Linked DNA regions of Homo sapiens: region 2 is linked to region 1. The links are contacts of gene promoters, found by promoter capture Hi-C in human tissues and cell types (Jung and others, 2019). All regions are on one chromosome and are shown on one strand. Each heading gives the region's core, a stretch centred on a gene start or on the middle of the fragment in contact. The rest is flanking DNA. Distances are from core to core; before and after follow the strand shown.

Evidence for each region. Contacts are between HindIII fragments. The study calls those that stand out against the background at their distance.
Region 2: a fragment that was not itself captured here is called in contact with the fragment with the promoter of CABP1 in region 1 in 1 of the 25 tissues and cell types used here (heart right ventricle).

The regions. Positions count from the first base shown.
Region 1 is chr12:120,638,126-120,642,093 of GRCh38, reverse strand. CABP1 (calcium binding protein 1) reads right to left here and starts at 1,468. Exons shown (of 6, transcript NM_001033677.2): 1 at 755-1,468. The coding sequence starts at 1,408. CABP1-DT (CABP1 divergent transcript) reads left to right here and starts at 1,572. Exons shown (of 2, transcript NR_183426.1): 1 at 1,572-2,044. RefSeq lists silencers at 489-588, 809-978, 989-1,088, 1,309-1,608 and an enhancer at 3,080-3,581. The HindIII fragment of the contact is 37,846 bases long and covers 1-3,968 here.
Region 2 is chr12:120,598,902-120,603,031 of GRCh38, reverse strand. No RefSeq gene overlaps it. Among named protein-coding and RNA genes, the nearest start is that of POP5, 20 kb to the right of the region's middle. The HindIII fragment of the contact is 9,311 bases long and covers 1-4,130 here.

The DNA.
Region 1 (3,968 bases), core at 219-2,718:
GACCTATATTGTGACTACGGAGCTGCTTTTAAAGGGCAGGCTCCCAGGTGCCTGGGACTCTTGAGGGAAAGGCCTGAGGGAACCACTGATGACCTCTTTGTGGCCTTTCTCACCCTTCCAATGGCATCCCTAGAGTGACAGCCTCCTTAAACCACCCCAAAGTTCCAGTTTGAGCCACAGCTCTGCATGCCCCTCCATGCCTACCCAGACACCTCTTCTCTTTCCTCATATTTTTGGATCTCCTAACTTTTCTCAGGCCTTCAGGGACATGATAGGCAGTGGCCAGTGTCCCTCGCCCTCAAGTAATTCTGTGTTCTCTGAGGTCCCCTCTCTTGACCCCCAGACTCCAAACCGCTTGCTCTCCTGAGTCCCTCCCTGGCGGTACTGGCCAGAGGCCAGAGGAGTGGGTTTGGCGCCACCTGCTCGGAGCGCCCCTCCTTGACCCCCGCAAATCTCCAGGACGGTCGTAGAGGTCGCTCTCTTCCAGGACTGGCGGGTTCTGGCGGGTATGAGGGAGGCTAGCGGGGAGGGCCTTGCCCCAAGAGGCCCGGAGCGTGGACAGCGCACGGGGTGCTGAATCAGGCACGGGGAGGAGGAGTGCCGGCAAGGGCGCCGGCCCGGGGAGGACGAGGTGAGCCGAGGCGTGATCCGTGGGGGACCACGGGCCGCGGGAGGAGGCTGTGGACGCGCAACCGCGGCCGGCAGGGTCCCGAGCGCCTTTCCCGGGAGCGCTGACGGGAGGCGCGGCCCTTACCTGGCCAAAGGCGGAGCTGAGCATGGGGCGCAGCCGGTGGAGGAACGGGTCCGCCTCGGACGCGGCGGCTGGAACGGAGTCCCCGCGGCCCCGGGCTCGCAGAGAGCCCCGGAGGCCGAGCGCCGGGGACAGTCCCCGTTCCTCCCCATCCCGCCCGCGGGCCGGCGGCAGCGGCGACGACGGCGAAGGTCGGGACGCCGCGGCCGGCAGCGCCTCCCGGGGCCTGCAGTGCGCCTGGGGGAGCACACGCTGGCTCCCCCGCGCGCCCTCCTCTCGCGGCGCCGGCCGGCACAGGGGCCTCCGCGAACTGGGGTCCCCGGACGACTGCGGCGTCGCCGGGCAGGAGCCGGGTAGCCGGCGGCTAGGCAGCCCCGGGTCCCGGGCAGGGCCGTGGCGGGGAGCCCGGCTGCCCCCGCTCGCCGCCGCCGCCGCCGCCTTCAGCAGCGACGTCTTGGACTCGCTTTTGGCGATGTGCGAGCTCATCGCGGCGGGGCCCGCGCTCGCATGGCCCGGCGGGGGCGGCGCGGTGCGGCGCGGCGCGGGGCCCCCGGCGGGCAGAGAACGGGGCTCCCGGCGGGAGCCAAGCCCGAGGACGCGCTGGAGGCGGGCGCCGTCCCCCGGCCGCTTAAATGCGGCCCCGTCGCCGCCGCCCATGTGACAGCGCAGCCTCTACGCCCGGAGCCCGGAGCTCCCGGCGGCTGGCGGTGCAGATCTGGGGGCGCTGCCGGCTGTCCCCGGAGAGCCCACCCCCGGCTCCCTGGCGGCCCAGGTACCGCCGCGCCCCGCCCCTTGCCCCGCCCCGCCCTGGGGGAGCCCCGCTTCCGGGCGGCCCCTGGCGGCGAAGGGGACGCTGCAACGCGGAGCGGGAGCACGAGGAGGGAAGGGGCTTGGCAATGGGCCCCAAAGAGGCCGAGACCCCGGGAGTGCCGGCAGCGCTCTTTATCACGCCTGGAGGCTCCTGCAGAGCCCCGGAACCGCCCGAACCTCCAGAAATGCAGGCAGGGTGCACTCCCCAGGGGGTACAACTTTGGCAATGAGGACTACAGAGGTCCGGGGAGAACCGGAGACCCGAGGAGCATGAAGGCACTCTGTGACATCACTGCCTACAAACGCAGGGGCCGGAATGCAGTGACAGGACACTGCTGGGAGGAAAGTCTCCCAGCGCCTCCGTGTGGGGCTGCCTCCACTCCCAATACCGTGCGGGGGGACTAGGACGACCCTGGTAAGTCAGCCACAGGATATCAGTTCTCAGAATAGAAGAGAAGCCAGGTCTGGCAGCACCTGATGATGGTAAGTCTCAGGTAGGACCCATTTGCTCCCCCTCCAGCTCTTGTCCCCTCTTTCACCTTCCTGCCTTTCTAGATGCTACAGAAATTCCTGCTCTCGGTGGGCAGCCAGGGAGCGTCCCAGGCCTTATCTGAATCTCAAATCCCAGCTCTGCCACCTACCATCTGGGTAACTTGGGCAGGTGTCATCAACCTCTCTGAGCCTTGTTCTCCTCTTCTGTAAAATGCAGATGATAAGCATAACTAATTTCTTGGTAACAGCAGACGATACTATGCACACAAAAGGCCTAGCCCAGTGCTCGGACAGGGGACCATCCAGTTAAGCCAGTTCCCTTCCCCCTGCACATCGTGAGGCCCCATCTACCATTCTTCTTTAGTATCCGGTGCTTGAGCTTTGCGGGGGGCTGGAGGGGTTCCTCCCAGGCTCTCCCTGTTCTGGTCCCTGGCCCCAATGCCATCCACAGTCTTGTCACCGCTCGGCCTCATTAAAAGGATACACGAGGCCGGGCACAGTGGCTCGCACCTGTAATCCCAGCACTTTGGGAGGCCAAGACCGGCGGATCACTTGAGGTCAGGAGTTCGAGACCAGCCTGGCCAACATGGTGAAACCCTGTCTCTACTAAAAATACAAAAATTAGCCAGGCGTGGTGGTGGGCGCCTGTAATCCCAGCCACTTGTAGGCATGAGAATAACTTGAACCCGGGAAGTGAAAGTTGCAGTGAGCCGAGATTGGGTCACTACACTCCAGCCTGGGCAACAGAGTGAGACCCTGTCTCAAAAAAAAAAAAAAAAAAAAAAAAAAAGAAGGGTACACAAACAGATTGCCGATATTACACTTCACTCATGCCAAGAGTTCATCCTTCTCTGCACTGTCTGCTTCTTTACAGAGTGTTGCTCTGTCACCAGGCTGGAGTGCAGTGGCACGATCTCGGCTCACTGCAACCTCTGCCCCCCAGGTTCAAGCGATTCTCCTGCCTCAGCCTCCCGAGTAGCTGGGATTACAGGCACCCGCCACCACACCCAGCTAATTTTTTGTATTTTTAGTAGAGATGGGGTCTCACCATGTTAGCCAGGATGGTCTCGATCTCCTGACCTCATGATCTGCCCGCCTTGGCCTCCCAAAATGCTGGGATTACAGGCGTGAGCCACCGCGCTGGGCCCTGTGTGCCTCTTTTACTTATCCATAGGCAAGGAATTAAGGAAAATGGATGGGCTGGGAAAGCAACTGCCCAGAGGCTAAAGTAAACTAGGAAAGTGTGGCAAATTGTTCCCCAGATCAGCTACCCTTAAGGGACTGAATTGCCATATCAAAGCCACTCAGGTTCCTAAAGCCCAAATCCTGAAGCAGCCTGGGGCGTTGCAGCCCTGAAGGCTCATTGCAGGGTCCTCTGGGATATGCAGGGTGTAATGAGTCCACCCTTTGAGTTCGAGGTCAGTCAATGTCTTACCTGCTCCAGCCCTCAGAATAATCAGTGTTTGGCAGGATTAAAAACAAAGGCACATTCAATATAAATCACAGGAGATAAAGAACCTTATCAGAAACCCTCAGGAGCCAATGAGAGGCAGAGGACTGCTGGGTATTCTAAATCCCTGCTGTGCCACTGTTGGTAACCTTTCTGAAATGCCCTAAATATTTTTGGGCAAGACCTCGGTCACCAACTAGTTTTTGAAAAACTGAAGAATCTGATTATGTTACCTATGATTACTAGAGTAAATAAATAAAAATTATGTCCATGAAGCAAATGGATGAAACACCTTCACTCATATCCCAGATAATCCTGGATGTATGCCAGGATTCCATTTCATTTGTAAAGTGTATTAATTTGGTCACTTATTTGACAAATATGTATCCAACCAGGCACTGCAGTAGTCATCTTGGATACAAAGATTGATCCATTCATTCAACAAATAATTGAGTGCCTGTTATC
Region 2 (4,130 bases), core at 548-3,047, 39 kb after region 1:
CCGCTCAGTTAAGCTGTTCCCAATTCCTGGCCCACAGAAACCATGTAGGGTAATAAATATTATTGTTTAAAGCCATTAAGTTTTGGGGTAATTTGTTACACAGGAGTCAATAAACTAATATGAACACTACCAGTATAATAGCTAATATTTATTAAGTATATATTCTATCACTTACTATTCCTACCCCCATTACTACTAGCAGGGAAGAGGTCCGATATCCTCCATTTGCCCATCTGGGGCACTTCCCCAGCCTGCCGTGTGCCCAAGGAGACTCAGCTGTTCAGACTCAACAGCCTTCCATATCCCCTGGCTTCTAATCTGGTTTGGGCAAGGAGGAGCCCCCGGGAGGAGACTGAAGGGAGAAGGTGGAGTGACTCAGGGTATTTATGCAACTGCTTCCTCCTGAAGGGCACCTCAGGCTGGTTAACAGAAGGTCACAGCTTCTCTTTTTTTTTTCTTTCTTTTTTTTTTTTTTTTTTAGACAGAGTCTTGCTCTGTCACCCAGGCTGGAGGGCAGTGGCGCAACCTTGGCTCATTGCAACCTCCACCTCCTAGGTTCAAGCGATTCTCCTGCCTCAGCCTCCTGAATAGCTGGGACTACAGGCACGTGCCACCACGCCTGGCTAATTTTGTATTTTCAGTAGAGACAGGGTTTCACCATGTTGGCCAGGCTGGTCTCGAACTCCTGATGTCGAGTGATCCACCTACCTCGGCCTCCCAGATTACAGGCATGAGCCACCTCATCTGGCCAACAGCTTCTCTTAAAGTGACCCTCTCCACATAACTTTCTGGCTAGTGGGAACTGCTCCTGCCATGCCTAAGGAGGTAACAGCCCTCCCATTGTAACCAGTCTCGGCACTGCACTGTCTCCTGCGATTTCTGTACACCCTGTCCACATCTAAATGATCCCTTTAGTCAGCCTTCCTTAAGTCACCCAGTTTGAGCTTGCCATCTGTTTCCCACTGGGACTGATGGCCACCCCAATTTAGGAGCCCCTATTTGGCCAGGCGTGGTGGCTCATGCCTGTAATCCCAGCACTTTTGAGAGGCTGAAGCAGGAGGATCCCTTGAGCCCAGGGGTTTGAGACCAGCCTGGGCAATAGAGCGAGACCTCATCTCTTTTTTTTTTTTTTTTTTTTTTTGAGACGGAGTTTCGTTCTTGTTGCCCAGGCTGGAGTGCAATGGCGCGATCTCAGCTCACTGCAACCTCCGCCTCCTGGGTTCAAGCAATTCTCCTGCCTCAGCCTCCCAAGTAGCTGGGATTACAGGCATGCGCCACCACGCCCAGCTAATTTTGTATTTTTTAGTAGCAACGGGGTTTCTCCATGTTGGTCAGGCTGGTCTCAAACTCCCGACCTCAAGTGATCCGCCCGCCTCGGCCTCCCAAAGTGCTGGGATTACAGGCGTGAGCCACCGCGCCCGGCCTTGAGACCTCATCTCTACAAAACATAAACAAAATTAGTTGGGCGTGGTGGCAACTGCCTGTAGTCTCATCTACTCTGGAGGCTGAAGTAAGAGGATCGATGGAGCCCAGGAGGTAGAGGCTGCAGTGAGCTAACAAAAAAAAAAAAAGGAGAACCCCTACTTTAGAGAAGGAAATGGAAATTCAAAGAGGAGCAAATGGGAAACCAACAGGGGCCACCTGGGGGTGTGCTCAGCAGCCAATAGGCACTAGTGGATGCTTGATAAATATCTGAATTAATGAGTGAATGAATGACTTGCTGTCACTGGGAAGGACCCACCTGCCCTTACCATAGGTGCTGGAACAGCAGGTCAGTATCTGAGCTACTTCAGCCCGACACTGGTGACCAGTTCCCTCGCCCAGCCCAGAGTCTTAAGCTTCAGGAAGTTTTGCATTGGAAGGATTAACACACAGCCCGGGACACCCAGGAAGCAGCCCCCAAGCTCAGTGAGAGACTCAAGAGTTATTTTTGAAAAGCAAGCAAGGCCTGCAGGCGGCCCTGGCAGAGGCAGAACGCAGAGCTGGAAAGAAGAGCCAGGAGCAGAGAGAGAACAGACAGCTACCACAGAACCCACGCCCCACGCCTGTGACGTGGGCCCCACGCACGGCGACATAACATGGTGGCAGAGGCGGGGAGGCGTCCTGTGACCCCTTGGGAATTTTATTTTAATTGTGGTAAAATATACATCACATAAAATGCATCCTTGGGAGTTTTTACTGCTCCCGCCCCAGGCTGAATGACATTGAGGACTGGGTTCCCACAGGAACAGGGAGTGGGAACACCAGCCAAACCCATTTGCATCCAAATGGTGTGTGAGCTTTTGCTCAAGTCTGGGAAAATCCTGGAACTGGAGGGAGGGTCATTGCTCTGAGGCAAAGTTGGGGTCTGAGGATTAGGACACAGGTGACAAAATTAACATTAGCGGTGCATGGTGGCACATGCCTATAGTCCCAGCTACTCGGGAGGCTGAGGCAGGAGAATCGCTTGAACCTGGGGGGTGGCAGTTGCAGTGAGCAGAGATCGCGCCACTGCACTCCAGCCTGAGCAACAGAGCGAGACTCCGTCTCAAAAAATAAAAAATTAAAATGGTAATTAAAAAAAGAAACAGTTAACAGCCTCTATCCCTGCAAAATAGTGGGGTGGCAGGAGTGGCTGTGGGGTCCGGGAGGAGGGGAGCAGGTGCTGGCCCTCGAGGTAGGGCGGGGAACTGCGGGCACGGAAAGCAGCAGCCGAGCAGCAGAATGCGGCTAATGAGCCGTGCAGGTGAAGGGAGAGGTGTCTGCAACGGGGTGGAGGTCACAGGCAGCCAGAGGGAGCCATCAAGGCCCCAAAATAACTCCTGCTTCTGCAGGAGAAACTGGAACTAATCAAGGTGGGAATAATCCGAAAATCCCTCAGAGAGGGACTGCTAAGAGGCCTTGTGTTTCCAAGCAGGGATTAGAGGGGAAGAAAATAAACAAAAGATGGAGTTTGTCCTGGAAAACGGTGCCAACATGAAAGCAAGTTCTTCCTAGGGCCTTGGTCAGAGGGCCACCAGTAGCTAATATCCATTGAGCGCCTACTATTGTATGCCTGATGCATTCATATGGCTAAGCATGTGAGCTCTGAAGTCGGCCTGCCTGGATTGGAATTCCTGCTCTACTTCCTGCTAGCTGTGTGACCTCCGAAGAGTTATTTCCCCATTCTGAGCCTCAGTTTCCTTATCTGGAAAATGGGGATAAAATTCATACCTGCCCCGCAGGGTAGTTGAGGATAAGTGCTCGATACATGTGAACTTTTATTATAATAGAAATATTTCCAGGGGCTCATTTCCTGGGATTGCCGGTGGCTCATACCTGTAATCCCGGCACTTTGGGAGGCCGAGGTGAGTGGATCACCTGAGATCAGGAGTTGGAGACCAGCCTGGCCAACATGGCAAAACCCCATCTCTACTAAAAATACAAAAATCAGCCAGGTGTGGTCTCAGGTGCCGGTAGTCCCAGCTACTTGGGAGGCTGAGACATAAGAATTGCTTGTACCCGGGAGACGGAGGTTGCAGTGAGCTGAGATTCACTGTGACTCCAGCCTGGGTGACAGAGACTGTCTCAAGAAACAAAACAAAACAAAACAAAACAAATCTTTCCAGCAATGCTGGAGGAAGAGGGTTAGGTTTTGTCTCCTCTTTCTGCAGGGTAGTGAACCAAGGCTCAGAGAGCCCAAGGTCACATGGCTAATAAGTGAAAGTGTCAGGATGGTGACTCATGTGAGTCTAAGTCAGGAGCATGTGAATTCACTAGCCCGGGCCACCCTGCTCGCTCCTCAGTGGGCAGGGAGGAGGGCAGTGGCCCACAGGCAGGGCGCAGCCCCTCACCCACCGCCTCTCTCTGGGCCCCATGCTGGGAGCAGATACAGCATGCACGTGGGAAACAGTCTCCGGGTGAGACATGTACAGTGGAGAGGGACGAGCACTGCCCTTGAGCATGGAAACTTGGCTGAGTTCTTTCCTCTCTCTGGGCCTCAGTTTCCCCAGTTGCAGAACAAGTGGTGGTAACAGGTGACTCGAGTCCTGGAGAGTCTAGATTCTTGCTCCCTGGTTCTCTGGTGAGTATCCGGTGCAGGCAGCAGTGAAACGAGGACAAGAGAGGAACCTGGGCCACTGCCAGGTGATCTCCCCTTTGTCACTTCCCTC